Regions from separate parts of the Homo sapiens genome. Here all the other regions are linked to region 2. The links are contacts of gene promoters, found by promoter capture Hi-C in blood cells and fetal thymus (Javierre and others, 2016). All regions are on one chromosome and are shown on one strand. The core of a region is centred on a gene start or on the middle of the fragment in contact, and the rest is flanking DNA. Distances in the headings are between cores, read along the strand shown. Region 1 overlaps OR2T11 (olfactory receptor family 2 subfamily T member 11). Region 2 holds the start of ZNF692 (zinc finger protein 692). Region 3 has its middle 13 kb from the start of OR2T10. Region 4 has its middle 12 kb from the start of OR2T27. Region 5 has its middle 8.9 kb from the start of OR14I1.

Region 1 (3,775 bases), core at 674-3,173, 230 kb after region 2:
AACACTTGAAGCTAAAGTTATCTTCAACCTATTAATTGGTACCTGAGTTGAAGAGCTGTCAGAGCAAGGACAGATTCAGAAGACAGAAGAAGTGGCAAGTCCCTCCTTTTTTTGTGAATTATGCTGACATCTTAATTACTCTATAAGTATTTTAAACCAGAGCGTAATTGTCTCAAATTTGTACTGTATATAAACCTTAATGATTTAGAAGTTGTATTGCTGTCTGATCTTAGAAACTTGTTATTTATTTTTCCTAGAATGAAGTTTTTTTTGATCAAATATTGGTGGATCCCATTTTTTTGTCTATTTTGCATTGAAGATAAACACAAGTGCCTAGCATTAAAAAAAATTATTTCTCTTCAGCACATTATATAAAATCAGGAGGTGTTTTGAAGGAATTCTAGAGGTATTCCTTAAAAAGCATAAAATAATTTGCATTTTTGCTAGCTGAATGTGTTTAAAAATGATTTATTCAAAGATTTACAATGTGCCAGTCGTATCTTTAGATGGTGAGAGTACAGTTAACAAAATAGGCACAAATCCTTATTCACATGAAGCTTACTTTCTAGCTTGAAGAGACACAAAACACAAGGTAGTGTCAGACGGTGTTAAGAAAAGTGAAGAAAAATAGTCATAGGACCTCTGAGCAGGTGGCTTTTGAGCAAAGCCCTGAAGTACATGAGGGGATGGATGGCCTTGCACGGTTGGAGGAGGAGCCCCAGGCAAGGGGAGCAGCAGAGGCAATGGCCTGGGCTCAGGGCTCTTGCAAAGTGGGGACAGAGGACAAGGAAGCCACCGTCGCTGCAGCCCAGGGACAGACAGACTGGAGTCGGCGGGAGATCATTTCAGAAGACAAAATGTTCAGAACGTGATGGGCCTTAATGTATGATGTAAAGCACAACTGCAGGGTTTCAAGCAGAAAGTGGCGTGGCGGGATGCACGGGTCCCGATGTGACTTTGATGGTTGTGCTGAGACTAGACTTGGAGGGATTCATGAGACAGCAGGGAGATCGTGGGAAAGTTCGTGGAACAACCAGGGTAAAATGTGTCATGATGGATTAAGCCAGGCACCTACTAGCTATGGACATGAGAAATATTATAGGTTTTTAATTGTTAATAAATAAGTTTTACTTATTCATTTCTTTTTTAGAAACAGGGTCTTGCTCTGTCACCCAGGCTGGAGTGCAGTGGCACAATCATAGCTCTCTGTAACCTCAAACTCCTAGCCTCAAGCAATTCTCCCAACTCGACCTCCTGAGTAGCTGGGACGACTGACGTGCACCACCACGCCTGGCTAGTTTTTTATAAAGACGAGCTCTGTTACCCAGGCTCATCTCAAACTCCTGGCTTCAAGTGATCCTTCCGCCCTGGCCTCCCTAAGTGCTGGGGTTACAGGCATGAACCACCACACCTGGCCTGTTTTTACTGTTTTATACATTTTGGATAAAATGTTTGAATTTGTTTAATATGACAAAGAGATGTGCTCTCTTCTCCTTAGTGTGGGTTAATTCTATTAGGAAGTTTTTGGAGTCTAATATAGAATGTTTCTTTTATATTTTTGGACTTTGAATTAGCAGAATATATTTTTAGGCAATATTTGTGTTCACTATCCTTGGGAAATGGAATAGAATTGAAACGATCAGGAGTGGATCAGGAGGCTAAGACTCACTGAAGTAGAGTTTTGACCACGGAGTATTTCTGGGAGGCCTGACAGAGGAGGCCACAGTCCTTAGCCCCTTTCACAGTAATATGAATATATCAATCAGAGGGAAATTGGGAGTAAGCCAATTTAATTTTGATGTTAGTAAATAACTTTTTTGTTTAGACTCTATTTGTACTGATTCTACTGGTCACTTTTCAAGGTCATAACAATTCTGGTACCTTTGTGAAACCAGATATGACTTCAGCATGGTAAAGGACAACCAGCTAAATTTGAATTTCAGATGTACAGTGAACCCTTTTTTTTGGTGTTAAGAACATTATGAACTTGCACTAAAACATTTTTTGATTATCTGAAAGTCAAACATAGCTGAGAATCCTGTATCTTTGCTAAATCTGGCAACACTAGATAGTGGAGCCAAGGTGTGTCTAGCAACATGTGAATGGGGGGAAACCCTGCAGCATCCGGGCTCCCCCGTTGATCGGACTTTCATTTTTACACAAATGTTTGAGACTCAAGCCACTGAGGCCTACCATGCCGGGGAGGAGGTGCTGGCGGGGAGAGGGGGGCGATTCTTACTACATGTATGGTTCTTTCTCTTGTCTAACAGTTAAATCTATCTTCCACCTGGTATGTTAAAGATAAAATTCCTTCTTAAACGGTGGCCTGTTGCTGTCACATTTCCATGTATCTGCTCCGTAGCTTTCTAAGCCTGAGTTTGGCTCTGGCCTCAGTTCTGGTAAGTGCTGGCAGACGTGTAGCTTGGTGAACCCTGCTCCTGTGTGTCTGCTGCTGACATAGCTTCAACCTACCAACATTTTCCTTTAATTTCCCTGCCCATTTCCCAAACCTACAGTAGCAATGGAGAGCAATGCAGGGAGTCAGCTTAGTGTCATAAACTGCTTTTTAAAAACTTAATTCTGGGAGCTTTTTGCAAATAGTTTTTTTTACCTTCTAATTTATCTGAAGAAAGATCTGCAAAAAGGTTAGCAAAACAGCACAAAGAACAGTGAGGAGTCCCAACTTTAGACATAAACAGTGGAATAATAGGCATCGAAGGCTTGGAAGAGTAGGGGGTGAAAGCGGAGCGAGGGGTGAGAAATTAGTAATGTGAGCACAACCTACGCTATTTGACTTACGGTTACCCTAAAAGACAAGACTCCACTATGCGATACATCCATGTCATGACACTGCACTTGTCGTCCTTAAACTTATACAAATAATTAAAAAGAAATAGAACAGAAACATGGGGCTTCGTGAATAAAACGTTCCCTAATAGTTATCCTAACCCTTCATTTCTTCAGTGATTTACTTCACTCCCCTTTATCCATTTGGTCAATGAATCACCCTTTTTTCCAACTAGTATTTACTTAACCCTACTATGGGCTGGATAACTTTCTGGATACAAGAAATGCAGCATGGACAGAACAGATATGGTTAAAACCCCATTCTTGGTGTAGCATACAGCAATTGTATCACGCAGTTACCATAACCTCCAGCAGCATGATGAACCATAGACGCAATATAGAAGGAGCTGTTCTCTGACAGGGAAATGCAGCCATGGTTTTTGCTTCATGATGTGCATGTTGGTCTGCCTGTTCTTCTCTAGCCTCTAGCCTGGAAGCTTCATCCTGACGGTACCCTCAGAAGTGTCACCTCTACTGCAGACCTTTCCCATCTTGACCGTGTTCTCTTGCCTCCTTCCTGGTCCTTGTGTCTTCCCGTTGCCCTGGGACGCTCGTGGGCCATATCAATGACGAACACATCATCCTCTGACTTCACCCTCCTGGGGCTTCTGGTGAACAGTGAGGCTGCCGGGATTGTATTTACAGTGATCCTTGCTGTTTTCTTGGGGGCCGTGACTGCAAATTTGGTCATGATATTCTTGATTCAGGTGGACTCTCGCCTCCACACCCCCATGTACTTTCTGCTCAGTCAGCTGTCCATCATGGACACCCTTTTCATCTGTACCACTGTCCCAAAACTCCTGGCAGACATGGTTTCTAAAGAGAAGATCATTTCCTTTGTGGCCTGTGGCATCCAGATCTTCCTCTACCTGACCATGATTGGTTCTGAGTTCTTCCTCCTGGGCCTCATGGCCTATGACTGCTACGT
Region 2 (3,754 bases), core at 1,255-3,754:
TGAAGAAGATACAATAGGGCACAGTGAGGTAGAGCATGACTGAGGAAAGGGAGCTTTCTGAATGAGGGATTTTATAGCTGAGTGGGTGATCTTATAGCCGAGATTTACAAGATGAGAAGGGAGCAAACAGATGAACAGCTGGGTGGTGGGCTGGGGGATGGGGTGGGGGCTGAGGGGAGAATTGAGTGCTCCAGAGACAAAAGAACTCCCTCTAGGATACTTGGCACACTTGAGAAATAGCAAAAAGGTGGGAGGACAAAGTGGGAAAAGTTGGGGGATGATGCCAGAGAAGAAGCCAAGGGCCCAATTAAGTAGGTCCTTGAGGCCATGATAAGGATTTTGGATTGCACCACTCACAGATTTTAAGCAAAAGATTTGATCTTTGAGGAAATTTTCCCTGCTTTGTGAGAGTACAAGTTAAAGTAGGAGGCAGATCCATTAGGAAGATGTAGCCACAGACCAGGTGAGAGATGATAGTGGTATGGTAGGCTTAAAAATAGTCCCAGAAAAGATATCTGTGTCCTAATCCCCAAAACTTGTGGAGATTACTTTATTTTATTTTAGATGGAGTCTTGCTCTGTCACTCGGGCTGGTGTGCAGTGGTGCAATTTCGGTTCACTGCAACCTCCTCCTCCTGGGTTCAAGCAATTCTTCTGCCTCAGCCTCCCGAGTAGCTGGGATTATAGGCCCATGCCACCATGCCCAGCTAATTTTTTTTGTATTTTTAGTAGAGACAGGGTTTCACCATGTTGGGCAGGCACATCTCAAACTCCTGACCTCAAGTGATCCACCCGCCTTGGCCTCCCAAAGTGCTGGGATTACAGGCGTGAGCCACCGTGTGCAGCCGATTACTTTATATGGCAAATACTTTACAGAAGAAATTGTCTTAGGATACTGAGATGGAGAGATTATTTGGATTATAAGGATGGACTCTAAATGCATTCACAAGCATCCTTGTAAGAGAGAAGCAGAGGGAGATTTGACACAGAAGGAGGCAATGTGACCTCAGAGACAGAGATTGGAGTGACGTGGCCACAAGTCAGAGAATGCTGGCCACCATTAGAAGCTAGAAGAAGCAAGGAAAGGATTCTCCCCTAGAGCCCTTACAATGGCCTGTGGCCCTGCTGATGCCTTGGCCTCCAGAACTGTGAGAAAATAAATTTGAGTAAAGGGAGCAAGTTTGTGGCTGAAAACAACACACAACACAATTTGTTACAACAATTACAGAAAATTAATACCAGTGGCTTGGAGTAGGGTTTTAGCAGTTGAGAGGGTCAGAAGTGATTGGATTTAAGATAAATTTTTGGAGACAGGACCAACAAGATTTGCTGATGTATATGGTTTAGGTATCATAAAAGGCAAAGAATCAAGGCTGATTCCCTTTTTTCTGAACAAGTGGGTGGATGATGACATAGTTTACTGGCATGGGGGAGGGTACAGGCGTTATTGTTATATGTTTGCCATATTTATGTTGGAGAAAATATCAGCTATCATGTGTCAGCGCTCTCTACATGCCAGGCACTGTCCTACATTCTTTACACGTGTTAGCTCAGTTAACACATGTAAGTCAAGCGGGCAGTAAGATATATGACTGGAGTTGAAAGAGGGCTAGGCTAGGAGCCATCAGTGTATTTAAAGCCATGGAACTAATTAGATCACCCAGGAGAACATATGCAGACGAGAGAAGATCTGGTTCAAGGCCTGAGCCAGGGCACACTTCATCTTTTGGCAGAACAGAGGGAATGGATCCAAAAAAAGGATAGAAGGAGCCAGTGAGGAGGGTGGAAAACCTGGAGCATATGAAGTCACAGAAGTAAAACTGGGGCCCAAAATGTAGAGGGAGCCATAAAGATGAGGAGGACGAGAGCTACATAGTCGCGCTCTTTCTAGGGCAGAGAGGCGGACGGAACTGACAGCTGCTATGTAGCAATATGACCGTCTCAAGTGACCTTGTGAAGCGCCACTGCAGTGGCTGGGTGGGGAGGAAAGCTCCATCAGAGCCATTTGAAGAGAAGAGGATGGGAAGTGAGCGTACACAGAGAATGCAGGCAACTTTTAGGAGGAATTCTGATGGTAATAGAAGTGGGCTGTAGCTGGTGGGACTCTGCGGTCCACAGAGGGCTCTAGCTGGACCCTCTGTGGGTCTTTCAAAGTGACTGATTCTGCATCATGTTTGCGGGTGGCAACTGTGAGGGGGAAATCGAAGGTGAATACAAAACGGGAACAAGTGAAGAGGCAACGTCCCCATACAGGCCGGGTGGGCTGGGGTTGGAGCACAGGAGGCCTGACCCTGTCTCTTCCACTTTCCCTCAAACCTTTGGTCACCAAGCGCAGACGCTCACCACAGAAGCCACCCAACCACAACTGCCGCGGGGCTCCGCGACACGCGCGGGCGACTTGAGTCGGGCAACCACGATTCCCGGCGGGCGTTGCGCGGGGCACCCAGTGCGCAGGCGCACGGCGTCGGCCTCCGACTCGCCCCTCCCTCTGGGGCGCGGGCCTCAGTTCCGGGCTACAGCAGCCGACGCCGAGAGGCACCGTTTCTTCTTAAAAGAGAAACGCTGCGCGCGCGAGGTGGGCCCCTGTCTTCCAGCAGCTCCGGGCCTGCTCGCTAGGCCCGGGAGGCGCAGGCGCAGGCGCAGTGGGGGTGAGGGCGCGTGGGGGCGCACAGGTAAGGCCGGGGTGGGGGTGGGTCGCGACGGGGGCTCTGGGCAGCCTGGGAACTGCCATTGGGATTAGTCCGCTCCACTCACTGTCAGCATTAAGTGGGGGTGCCCAAGACGGGGTGGATGGGGGGCGCCCTCCAGACCTCTGACCACGGCCTCACCGCCACTCGACCCAACTATGAAGAGCGCCCCCAGCTGCACGCCAGGACACGACCTTTCCTTCCCCTAGAAACCAGTAAAGGCCGCTGCCCTATTCAAGATGAAATGTGTGGACCGCCCCCAGCCCAGTTGAAATTTCCCGTGAAAGTCTCTCGCCCCTTCCCCACAGCTCCACTTCAGTGGACTGGAGGGCGCAGGCCTTTGTTCTGACTGCTTCTGTCTGCCTGCCTCCCACCCGACGACACTCACATGGTAGCGCTGAGCTTCAACACCCTGTATCATAGAAGGACGGGGTTTGGCTCCACACCTGCCACTGCTATTGAAATAGTTTAGTCTTGCCCCAGTTCACTGATGAGGAAACTGAGGCCCTAACGGCAGGTGGAGCCGGGTCCCCGACCCCCGAGATCGGCAGGGCGCTGAAGACGTCCCTTCCACCCTCCAGCCTCTGGTGCACATGGCTTCCTCCCCGGCGGTGGACGTGTCCTGCAGGCGGCGGGAGAAGCGGCGGCAGCTGGACGCGCGCCGCAGCAAGTGCCGCATCCGCCTGGGCGGCCACATGGAGCAGTGGTGCCTCCTCAAGGAGCGGCTGGGCTTCTCCCTGCACTCGCAGCTCGCCAAGTTCCTGTTGGACCGGTTAGGGGCCGGGAGAAGGGCTTGGGGGAGGGTACCCAGGCAGCAGCCCCTAGCCTCCTCTCCAGGGCCTGTCCTGCTGCTCTTTTCCACCCTCAGGTTTCTCACTTTACCAGGACGGCCTGTGTGACTTGTGGCCTCCGAGGGTCCTGCTCCCCTCCTCATGGTCTCAGCGAATAGCGGCCCTTAGGGCTGGCCCCTTACATGTGTGAGTGCCCAGGGCTGAGGGTGGCTGGCCACCTGAGTCCTGACCTGCCTCTTCTCCTGCTGGCAGGTACACTTCTTCAGGCTGTGTCCTC
Region 3 (4,019 bases), core at 734-3,233, 250 kb after region 2:
TTCATGGGGAGGTATATTAGAGTATTTTTGGTGTCGAAGTTTGGGCTGTGATCCAGTAGATGGTGCTTAAGCATAATGGCCGGTAGATAGAGGAGCCGTGGGGCTGAACAAGGGCCTATTTTCTCACAATTGCAGGCTTGCTCCCTCTCAGTGCTCTGAAAGTGTGGGCTCCTCTTCCTCCTTTAGTGCTGGCTGTAGATCTCAGCTTGGTACTCCTGGGCTACAGGCCACACCTCTGGGGTGACTCAGGCTTTATGTTCCCCTCAGCCTGGAGGCAGTGTGAGCAGGGTCCTGGCAGTGTTGTGGAAGAGGGCCTTTCACATGTTTCTTGGGCCCCATCCCAGAGAAATGCAGAGCTGCTACCAATAGGTGTGGTCAGCCCAGAGTGGGGCAGCTGTGTTTGGGCCCAAACCAGGGGGCCCTGCGTGGTGACAAAAAAAATTCATGTCAATAATTTCTTATGATTAAAACTATATTATCTTTTTAAAACATCTTTTTCACTCTATAAATACATCTGTGAGTGCTATACATAATTTAAGACATAGATGGAACTAAAAGGAGAAATAAAGGTATAAAATAAATCCTACCACATTTACTATAAAATTTTTTCTTTGTAAAAATTTTAGTTTATTTTGTTTTTAATCGACTCATAACAATTGTATATTTTTATGGGGTATGGGGTGATGTTTTGACACATATATACATTGTATAATGATCAAGTCAGAATAAAAATTTTCAAAATAGGATTTTGAAAATTGTTTTTAATTGACAATTGTATATATATTTGGGTACAGTGAGATATTTCAATACATGTACACATTGTGGAATGACCATGTCATGATAATTAACATATCCATCTCACATACTTATTTTTTGTGGGAGAAAATGATATTTTTAATATATAGATACATAGATATATTAAAATACTATAGATTAGAATCATGCTGTATATAGCTCTACATCTGCATAAATATTCTTGTGTACATATTTTCAGTGTTTACTTTTTAAAAATATTGTTTTGAATATAACTTCACAATTTACCTTAATAACAGAATCTGAGTTTTCTTATTTCCAATGTAGATTTCTTCCAATTTTTTACTAATCTAAAACAATACTATAATGAATATCTGTGTAAGGAATTCCTTTATTGTATCGGTTATTACATTTTTATTAAACAGTGTCCCTTTCATGTTCATATACTCGGGTTGTACCCGTCAGTGATCTACCCCGGCATACCACAAAAGGCCGCACTGGTGTTTTCACTGACTCACAGCAACACTGATAATCACACATTTTTTTGCCTCTCTGTTATTCAACAAATTAATGGACATTTTTGTGCTTTTTGTCATTGTCTTATTTTGTATGTACAAGTCTTCCACAAATTGTTTACTAACATGTTTGTGTCATTTTAAAAATTGCCATGTCTGTCTTATGAATATGCAAGAGAATCTTACACATTACCGATCCTCAGCCTTTGATTCGTCATGTGAACCATAAATTTCCTAATTAGAAAAAATTTGTTTTATTCAGAGATTGTTTTCAGTTTTCAAATACTAATTTTACTTTCCATGTTTTCTTCATTGCCTTTGCTCACCGTTTAGCTAAATCTTTACCCATTCATGTGTCTTGTTTTATATTTTTATTTTCCACATGTAAACCTTTAATCGATTTGATATTTTAAATTAATGTGATAACAGGACCTAGTTTCACCTAACTTTTTACTAAATTTTCATAATAATTTACTGAGTAATGCTTCCTTAGTTCAGTGAATCACAATGGAAAGTTTGAGACTTGTAGTATTTTCCCAGAATTGTGTTGCAGTCGTGCCAAGGAACCACACATTTCACTGGTTAATTTTTTACCATAACCATTGACAATCTATTGAGGAGAAATAACTTTTCTGTTTTCATCAGATTATGGCACTAGAAATTTTCAGTGACTTTGTTGAGTAACATTTAATAGCTTAATATGCAGGTTTCGATTCTAAGTAGACCATAGCTTCATTAAGGCTGACCCTGATTAGTATACATGAAATGTTTAAACTTGTAAAACAAACTTTTGAATTTCTTTTAAAATGACACTTTAGTAAACAATTCACTACCTAACTCTTCATGCCTTTGAATGTGATTTTAAAAATTCACAGCTGAAATATGAAAAATAAATGTATAGTAATATTTCTGCAACAAAAGTCACAAATAGAGTAATGTGGTGGCTTCTTTAGTGTGGGTGTGTTTTAACAGCAAATTCTACGATAAATTTATAGCACAAGATCCTTGTGGCTGAATAGAGCACAATGATAATTTAAGCATCTTCAAATACTCAAGTTCTGTAGAACTTAGTATAGTTCCCTTCAACTCCAGGGAAATGTTGTGCCTCCTAAATTTACACACGTCTAATTTTTTTTTCTTAATTTTCTAATAGTTTCACCTCGGAAGTGTAAGCAGCTTACCTGGGTGGGAAAGCAGGTCATGGCAGGGCTGGCCAGGTCATGGGCCGGCCTGCCCTGGAATCCCCTGCAGACCTTGCTTGTCTCCAGCTCTTCTCTCAGGCTCTCCCACTCTGAGTGAGTCTCCAGCTAAATACAAGGCATGATGTAGAATTAGGAAATGGAAAGAAAGGTGCAATCACTTTTTTCCACGAAGGGAAAAAGCATAAGGAACACGGAGGAAACTGGGCTTCTCAGGAGGTCCCTGGGCTCTTCTATTCTTGCAGGTAATTAGGGGGCTAGTCCCGAAAGGTTACGAAGACCAAGAGAATTGTTTAAAATGCTTCCTTTGTTTTCAGTAAATGAACTGAGCTACCATTTTAACTGTTTTCAAGTTGATTGTTTTAAATTAATCCTCTCAATATAATTAAGTAGTGGATTTGCCGATTATAAATTCTAAATGTTGCCAGGCATTGGTTTATTCACTCCACAGTCAGGTGCCTGCTTTGTGCCCATTCCTATGCTGGTCACTGGGGGCACAGTAAGGACAAAAGAGAGGCAGAAAGATTTAAGACAATATCCTTTATCAGTCTGAATTAAATTGCATGTGTTATTAGATAACTAAAGATAGGAGAGACTGAAGAATTCAAAGCAAGGTTTACAGAAAAATGATGGAGATGAGGTTCTGATGTTTAAGAGAAATGATAAAAACAGCCAAATTTGGTCTCAGACATGTAACAATGGATAGGACAGAATATACAAGACAAGGCTGTAAAACATTGCGTCGCTTGGTGTCCTATGAAAGCTATGTAGCATATATAAAGGATCCAAAAGGTTTCAAATACATTTCAAAACTCATATCTGCCTAAAACACATAGGTAGCTAGGAATGGAAATACATTTACTTAAATATTTCGTTTTAGGCAACATCATATATCAAAAGTAAAAAGAAAGCTAAAGCAAAATAGAAAACATACAACATAATATCTACCAAAATTATGAAAAGTTGGTTCCCTTGAAATAAAGTTGAAATGAAATCTGATATTTCTTTGTAATAGAATTCAAATGCTACATGAGGGTCAAAGGAATCGGTATAAAGCAAAAACAGAAATCAATACTGAGGTGACAGATGTTAGAGAATAAATAGAAGATAAAAGTAAAATAAAAATATGTTAACAAATGAAGAGAAACAGCTTAAAAATAATGAAGGACCAGAAAAAGAGGCTTAAAAATCCTGAGGAAAATAAAGAGAGAGGTTAAAAAGTGTCAGTGGATTTGGAAACCAACAAAAAGGGTCAAACATAAATATTGTGGTTGAAAAATACATGTAAATGATTAGAATGAAAATGTACATGCAGATACTTTTTCAAAATGTGATATAGTATTTTCTATATCCAGATATGTCCCACAAAAATATGGTACTGTGTGTGTCTAAGTTAGAATTACTAGGAAATCTAGGCAAAATATCACAATATAGTGGTATTAGGCCGGTCTTTGAATTTTATTTATATTAAATGATAAAAAATAGAGCAATACTTAACAATATTTTAGTGGAATATCTTTTAAAAAACAAAGCCATTCTTTAAGATTTAAGA
Region 4 (3,556 bases), core at 592-3,091, 190 kb after region 2:
AACACCGCTAAATATAAAACTATTTCACCAATAAATCCAGACAAAAATGTATGCTGACAATTCTGAAGGCATTTCAAATTTTATTTTACTAATAATTATAAAGCCAGCTTATTTATTGAAGATTTACTTGTCATGTGAACTTGAAGAGCATTTGGACTTTATGAGTAATCCTTTATTTTTAAGCCCATTTGATACCTTGCAGTTACAACATATAAGAAAATACATGTACATGTAACATAAACACAACTCAACATAGATACACAGATACAAAGATCCCATAGGTTTTATTTCAGAACTCTAGTCACAAGACAGCAATACAGATTCACCAGCTTGCAAAAGATGGTTTAATTTAAACAATGGGTTTTATCTCAAAACCAGTAGAAAAGCAACAGTACATTTAAAACAGAAAAATAAAATAGAGAAATTGAGAATTTAGGAGATGCTATATTTAATTCTATAGTTGCAGGTCAACTTTGAGCTCTGAATTTACCCATCAGTTTAAAAATGTGCCAGAACAGACTATAATACATAACCAGCCAGAGTACTAGAAAACCAAGCATGCTCTCAAACCTTCACATTTACACAAACATTTGCAAGTAGAGTGCCATAAAACCCCCAGGGGTGCCCCAAAGGAGGTCATCTCCTTGTCTTTTCTCAATCTTTGAGAATTTGCTTTGCAAGTTTTTTTTTTTGTTTGTTTGTTTTTTAGTGGAGGAGCCAGACTGTAGCGTGGGTTTCAGTGCAGTGGGGCTCAGAAGTTGTCTCTCATTCACTTATACAAACATCAGGTTTTTCAAGCAAATGCACAGATGAACCAATTGAGACTAATTTTTGGAGAAAAAAGCAATGGAGAAAACTCTAGAATGAACCTGTGAATCCAAAATTAGAATCTGAAACAAGTTCCCAGGAAAAGACCAGCTCAGAATAAACCAAAGTACTATTAACTACATAAGGGATCTGTGGCTCAGGAGTACTTACTTACCAGTTCCACCTATGGAGAACCTCAAAGTCAGGAGGCTTTCAATAAGCCTGCAGCAGGAGAATATGGTCTGGAGACCTGGAGACAGGGAACTTAAGGCCAATTTATGCTAACTTCCTAAAAGAGAAAACACCAAGGTCTGGGAGCAGGACCTGGACAACTTGTAGTCAAGACTTTCCACTGGTAACAAGCCCAAATTGGTACCTTATTTCCAAGTTCACATGACTCCTTTTGGGGAGAAGAGTCCTTAGTCTTCTCTGAGGTCCTGCATTGGGCACCAAATAATGTTGATGAAGAAAAGTGAAACTCTAAAATATTTGAAGAGGTTTATTCTGAGCCAAATGGCCCAGGACACAGCCCCAGATGGTCCTGAGAATATGTGCCCAATGTGGTTGGGTTATAGCTTGGTTTGATACATTTTAGGGAGACAAAAGTTACAATCAAAGAGATAAATCAATACATGAGGGATATACATTGGTTCCAGAAAGTTTAGACATCTTAAAGTCAAGGTTTACAAGTCAAAAATAGATTCAAAGATTTTCTGATTGGCAACTGTTTGAGTTAAGCTTTGTCTAAAGACTTAAAATGTCAGTAGAAAGGAATGCTTAAGATTACATAGTTGTGGAAGCCAAGGTTTTTGTTATAGAAAGAAATGCTCGAGTTAAGATAACGGGGTCCTGGAAGCCAACGTTCTTGTTATGTAGATGAAGTTTCCATGTAGCAGGCTTTAGAAAGAATAGTTGACAAATGTCTCTCTTGCACCTTAGAAGATGTCAGACTCTCATTTACTCTCTCCTGGATCTGGAAAAGGCTTAGCGGCATTAATCAAGTTTCTCTACAGATGCAAAATTTCCCCCACAAAAGATACCTTTGCAGGACCATTTCAAAATTTGTCAAATAAGTATGTTCCAGGGTAAAGTATTTTTATTTACTTCATGGTTTGCTATCTGTCATGTGGTGCTATATGAGAGTCAGGTTGAAATTTAGTATCTTATTACCACCTAGAATCTGTTTTGTCAGTCTCATGATCTCTGTTTTAATGTTAATGCTGGTCAGTCATTTAGCATTCAATGGTAATGCTAGAGACCTCAAGTGTTTAGTTTAACTCTTTCAACCAACTGCCAGTCAAGAATTTTTTAATCAACCTATGAAAGCTTCTAAGTAGCAGGCTTCAGAGAGGATAGATGGTAAAAGGTGTCAGACTCTTAGTTAAATGTTTTCTGGATCCTCACGAGGACTTAGAAAGGGAAGCAAATTCTATACAGAATTCAGATTTCCCCCAGAAGAATTGGCTTTGCAGGGCCATTCCAAAACATGTCAAAGAAATACATTTTGGGGTAAAATATTTTATTTCCTTCAGGGCCTGTTACCTGTCATGTGATTCTACACCAGAGTCAGGTTGGAATCTGCTATTGTTGCTACAGTCTGTTTTGTCAGTCTTATAATCACTGTGTTAATGTCAATACTGGTCAGTTTTGCCTAAACTCCAAAGGGATGGCATACAAGGAGTCATGTCTGACCTCCCTTCCCGCATGGCCTGAACTAGTTTTTCAGATTTCTTTGAGATCTCCCTGGGCAAGAGAGTTTCCAATCAGTCAATGACAGGGCTTGGGATTTATTATTATTATTATTATTATTTTCTGAGGTTGCAACACAAAGCCCAAGTAGGAGGTCTAATTTTGGATAGAGGCAGAAACACTGTCTCATGGAATGCAAGAGTAAATACAATAAAATGAGAGAGATGGAAAATAGAGTACACTCAACTATGTTGCTTATTTTCAGTCTTCTGATGCCTAATCCCTCATTGTTTTGTAGTCACATGGTTATTTCTTGGTTCTTTTATAACATTTTTCACAACTGGATTGCTATGATTGTGCAGACACTGTCTACTAGAGTCAAATTTTGTTTTGAAATAGTTCATTATTTTATTTAACTGCATAAACTAGTTTAGTCTATGATGAGTTAATAGACAGATGTGAAAAATTTTAAACTCCTCTGTCAGGGTTCAGAACATGATCCTTCCAAATATGGCTTCTTGATGAAATCTAAAAGTAAAATCCTAAGCCGCCCAATCAACTGAATGGATCCCCCTTCTTGGCCAGTGGAGCTGAGAGCAATCTGAAAAAGTAAATTTCAGGCCATGAGGGAAGGGGGATTGGGCACACCTTGTTGCACTCCCTCCATTGTGGAATTAACATTAAAATAGAGATCACAGGACTGACAAAACAATAAGATACCAAATTCCAACCTGACTCCCATATAGCATCACATGACAGATAGTAGACACTGAAAGAAATAAAAATATTTTACCACAAAATATATTTATATGACAGATTTCGAAATGGCCCTGCAAAGCTATCTTTTGTGGGGGAAATTTTGCATCTGCCATTAGTGCAGCTAGGCCTTTTCCAGATCTAGGAAAGATAAACTGTGAGGCTCACACCTTTTAAGGTCCAAAAAGAGACATTTACCATCTATTCTTTCTGAAGCCAGCTACATGGAGGCTTCATATATGTAACAAGAATCTTAGCTTCCACAAACTCCCTTACCTTAACTCAAACATTTTTTTCTACTGAC
Region 5 (3,606 bases), core at 283-2,782, 150 kb after region 2:
AAAACTCTCTCTCCAGAGAGAGAAGGGGTTCCAAGTGGGTCTTCTGGTTTCGTGATGAAATGCATGTGGTTTTATGGATTAGCTTGAGGAGGCATAGTGTGATTTACACAGGAGACGAGAGATTGGGAGGAGCAGGTGTGCCATTTACATAGCACACAAAGAAGCTGGCAGCCCCATCCTAATCTTTTATTATGCAGATGGGTCCCCTACCTGGCTGGCACCATGTTGTCTGTTCCTTTACTGTACATGTGATTGAAAGAGAAAAGGGAAGATGGAGCCTCCATGTTGAACATGCCTGGCCCCCAGGTAGCCTTTTCCTATTGGCACAACTGCCAGCACTCACCCATGCAAGCTTCTAGCTTGCTTTTCCATGTCTGCAGCTTGATTTTTCAGGCTGCTCTTTGTTAGAAAAGAAATGATTTGGGGTCTGCTTTTTATTAAAAGCAAAACCTTGCTAAGGACTCTCTTACCCTCATTAACTGCCTAAATAATTTCTTTCTAGCTCCTGTATCATCTGGAGGGGGTGCTCCCAGACCTCAGCAAATTGTCCTATTGGTTTGAGCCATAAAGTTAGCTCATGCGGGTACCAAGCACCAATAGGAGATTTTTCAAAGGTCAAGGGGCATCTCCATTCAGAATCCCTCCACAGTTAACAAAATGTGAATCCTGTATATCTGAGATAGGTCTCAGTTAATTTAAAAAGTTCATTTTGCCAAGGTTGAGGATGCACACAAAGGACATAGCCTCAGGTTGTCCTGAGGACATGTGCCCAAGGCGCTCAGAGCGCAGTTTGGTTTTATACATTTTAGGGAGACATGAGACATCAATCAACATATGTAAGATGAACATTGGTTCAGTCTGGAAAGACAGGACAACTCGAAGCAAAGGCAGGACAACTCGAAGCAGGGAGGGAACTCCCAGGTCATAGGTAGATAAGAGACAAATGGTTACATTCTTTTGAGTTTCTGACTAGCCCCTCCAAAGACCAAATGCAATCAGATATGCATTTATCTCAGTGAGCAGAGGGGTGACTGAATAGAATAGGAGGCAGGTTTGCCCTAAGCAGTTCCCAGCTTGACTTTTCCCTTTAGCTTAGTGATTTTGGGGCCCCAAGATTTATTTTCCTTTCACAAAGTCTCCAACTATTATTACATTAGGGGTCTATCTCTCCCTTTAGATCTAATTGTATTTGCTTTACATTGGTGCTCCAGTGTTGGGTGCATATATATTTATAATTGTTATACCTTCTTGCTAAATTTATTTCTTCATCATTATTTAATGATTTTCTTTGTCTATTTTTATGTTTTTTGACTTAAAGTCTATTTTGTCTGACATAAATAGAGCTATTCTTGGATGCTTTTGATTTCCATTTGCATGGAATATTATTTTCCATCCCTTTACTGTCAGTCTTCATCCCATTGGTGGCATTCATGGGTGCTGGTGTTGGTGGTAGCAGGCTCTGGGCAGGCCATTCCTTTAGCCCTTGGGCAGTATGTGCAGGTGTGAGATGACACTACCACTAGAGTGGATGTGTCCTGCAGCAGAAGCAGCAAAAGCCCAGGCAGGTGGCTTTCAGGGTCTGGGGAGCACACACACCAGTCTTCTGGCTCCACAGGGTATAAGGGGCTGCATGGGCTCAGGTGCCAGGGTCACAGCTGCACAGCTATAACAGATCTCAGTTGTGTCTTTATGCAGCAACACTCTGGGTACCTGTGGTGGGATGTGGATGAGACCCCAGGGATGGATGTGGAGATGAAGGAGCAATTGGGCCCCTGGACAGTATGTACTCTGGTGATGGCTCCACTCCCAAAATGGTGCCATGCTGCAGCCCTGGGTCCTGGGACATTGGGGGAATCCAGCATAAATTCTCTCTCTGGAGTAGTAAAGTCATGTGGACTCTAGGCAGTACCCTATACTAGACTAAGGGACTGTGAGGGCTGAGGGCTCTCCTGTAGCTATGACTGCAGGTGTCTGGTGGAAATATAGACTTCTGGGGACCTCCTGCTAACCTTTTCTCCGCAATGGGGAGGGAGTCCCTCCTGGCTCCAAGCACATCTCGGTAGGCTGCATTGCTTACCTCTCTATGCTGTCATCCTGAGTTTTTGTGCCTCAAAGTTTCTTTTCTTTGAATTTGAACACTATCTGCTGAATTCCAGTGTTCTTCCTTAGACATTCTAGTCAATGTGTGTTTATCAATTTGTTACTTTGGTCCTTCTTTGTGGAGAAGGTGAGTGCTAGGCATCTCTAGCCATTTGATCTCTCTGTCTTCTTTTGAGCTACTGACTCTTAAAAAACCTTTTTATTGTGGCAAAATATACATAGCATAAAATTTGCCATTGAAACCATTTTCAAGTGTATAACTTAGTGTCATTAAGTACATTCACCACGTTGTGTAACCACCTCTACTATTCATCTCTGAAACATTTTCACAATCTCAAACACAAACTCTACACATTAAATAATTGTGCTTATGCTTAATTTTCACTCAACTATGTACATTTTTGATTCCCTATTTATATCTCCCTATTTTATCTTTATAAGATACAAAGATATAAATGAAGAGCAGCATGAAATTGCATCAACATTCAAGTTTGTTGTGTTCTTTTTCCAGCTTTTCTTCTACTGCCCTATATAATTATCATTCTCTTTAAAATACATACGCTATTGCAACTGGATTCATTTTTAGAAACTGGTTTTCAAACAAAAGCTTAAAATCTCCATAACCGGCTGTGGATATTGCTGCCGTTGCTGGTTTTGAAACTACATTTTCTCGTAACCTCTTGTGAAATTTCTTCAGGACACTAGGCAGATGAAGCAAGCTTAACTCTGTCAGTAGGATGAAATATGTAGTTTTAAACTTCCCTAATTGTTTTAAACTTTTTTAAACATTCCTAAATAAAATAAACTTCCCTAAATAAGAGAAAACTTCCCTAAATAAGATTGTTTTAAACTTCCCTAAATAAGATAAAAACCACCCACCACAAAACTCAGTGTACAATGTGACCTAAACTAATAATTCTCATGTTTTTGCCTCTCATCATGTGGGGACTACAGGTCTTCATGAACACTGGCACTTCTGAGTACAAAGAATAGAATCAGCAAAGGAGAGTTATCTGGACCTCAGTTTCATCTAATTGTTGTTGTATTATTTTAAGGTGTTGCTTTTCTTAAATAGCTTAAAAAGGGAAAAGATTGTGTTTAGCCATTAAAAGTAAAAAGGAAAGGTAACAAAAGACTGTTAACGTTTCCAAAGAAAATATACAAATGGCCAGAAATCCCATGAAAATATGCTCAACATCATTAGCCACCACGGAAATGCAAATCAAAACCACAATGAGATTAGCCAGGAATGGTGGCGTGTGCCTGTAGGCCCAGCTATTTGGGAGGCTGAGGCAGGAGGACCGCTTGAACCCAAGAGATTGAGGTTACAGTGAGCTGATTGCACCACTGCACTCCAGCTTGGGTGACAGAGTGAGACCCTGTCTTAAAAAAAAAAAAAAACCCACAACGAGATGATACTTCATACCTCACAGCCCAAGGTTGCTCACAGTCCCTAAGTGCAGTAGAGGGTGCTGCCTAGAGTCCATATGACTTTATTATTCCAGA

Evidence for each region. Contacts are between HindIII fragments. The CHiCAGO score rates a contact against its expected background, and 5 or more counts as called.
Region 1: a contact is called between a fragment that was not itself captured here and the fragment with the promoter of ZNF692 in region 2, in 5 of 17 cell types (total B cells, naive B cells, M0 macrophages and 2 more). The highest score is 15.4, in total B cells.
Region 3: a fragment that was not itself captured here is called in contact with the fragment with the promoter of ZNF692 in region 2 in 4 of 17 cell types (total B cells, naive B cells, activated CD4 T cells and 1 more); the score reaches 10.8 in total B cells.
Region 4: a contact is called between a fragment that was not itself captured here and the fragment with the promoter of ZNF692 in region 2, in 2 of 17 cell types (naive B cells and total B cells). The highest score is 6.0, in naive B cells.
Region 5: a contact is called between a fragment that was not itself captured here and the fragment with the promoter of ZNF692 in region 2, in 7 of 17 cell types (neutrophils, monocytes, M0 macrophages and 4 more). The highest score is 16.2, in neutrophils.

Annotation. Positions count from the first base shown.
Region 1 is chr1:248,626,767-248,630,541 of GRCh38, reverse strand. OR2T11 (olfactory receptor family 2 subfamily T member 11) reads left to right here. Exons shown (of 2, transcript NM_001001964.2): 2 at 3,270-3,775. The coding sequence starts at 3,414. Among named protein-coding and RNA genes, the nearest start is that of OR2T11, 6.4 kb to the left of the region's middle. The HindIII fragment of the contact is 2,727 bases long and covers 560-3,286 here.
Region 2 is chr1:248,857,835-248,861,588 of GRCh38, reverse strand. It overlaps ZNF692 (zinc finger protein 692), which reads left to right and starts at 2,504. Exons shown (of 12, transcript NM_017865.4): 1 at 2,504-2,671; 2 at 3,268-3,458; 3 at 3,730-3,754. The coding sequence starts at 3,280. It overlaps ZNF692-DT (ZNF692 divergent transcript), which reads right to left and starts at 2,425. Exons shown (of 3, transcript NR_186117.1): 1 at 2,343-2,425. RefSeq lists enhancers at 2,020-2,169, 2,970-3,019, 3,620-3,699 and a silencer at 2,310-2,809. The HindIII fragment of the contact is 15,686 bases long and covers 1-3,754 here.
Region 3 is chr1:248,608,297-248,612,315 of GRCh38, reverse strand. No RefSeq gene overlaps it. Among named protein-coding and RNA genes, the nearest start is that of OR2T10, 13 kb to the right of the region's middle. The HindIII fragment of the contact is 6,444 bases long and covers 1-4,019 here.
Region 4 is chr1:248,665,778-248,669,333 of GRCh38, reverse strand. No RefSeq gene overlaps it. Among named protein-coding and RNA genes, the nearest start is that of OR2T27, 12 kb to the right of the region's middle. The HindIII fragment of the contact is 588 bases long and covers 1,548-2,135 here.
Region 5 is chr1:248,709,911-248,713,516 of GRCh38, reverse strand. No RefSeq gene overlaps it. Among named protein-coding and RNA genes, the nearest start is that of OR14I1, 8.9 kb to the right of the region's middle. The HindIII fragment of the contact is 2,355 bases long and covers 355-2,709 here.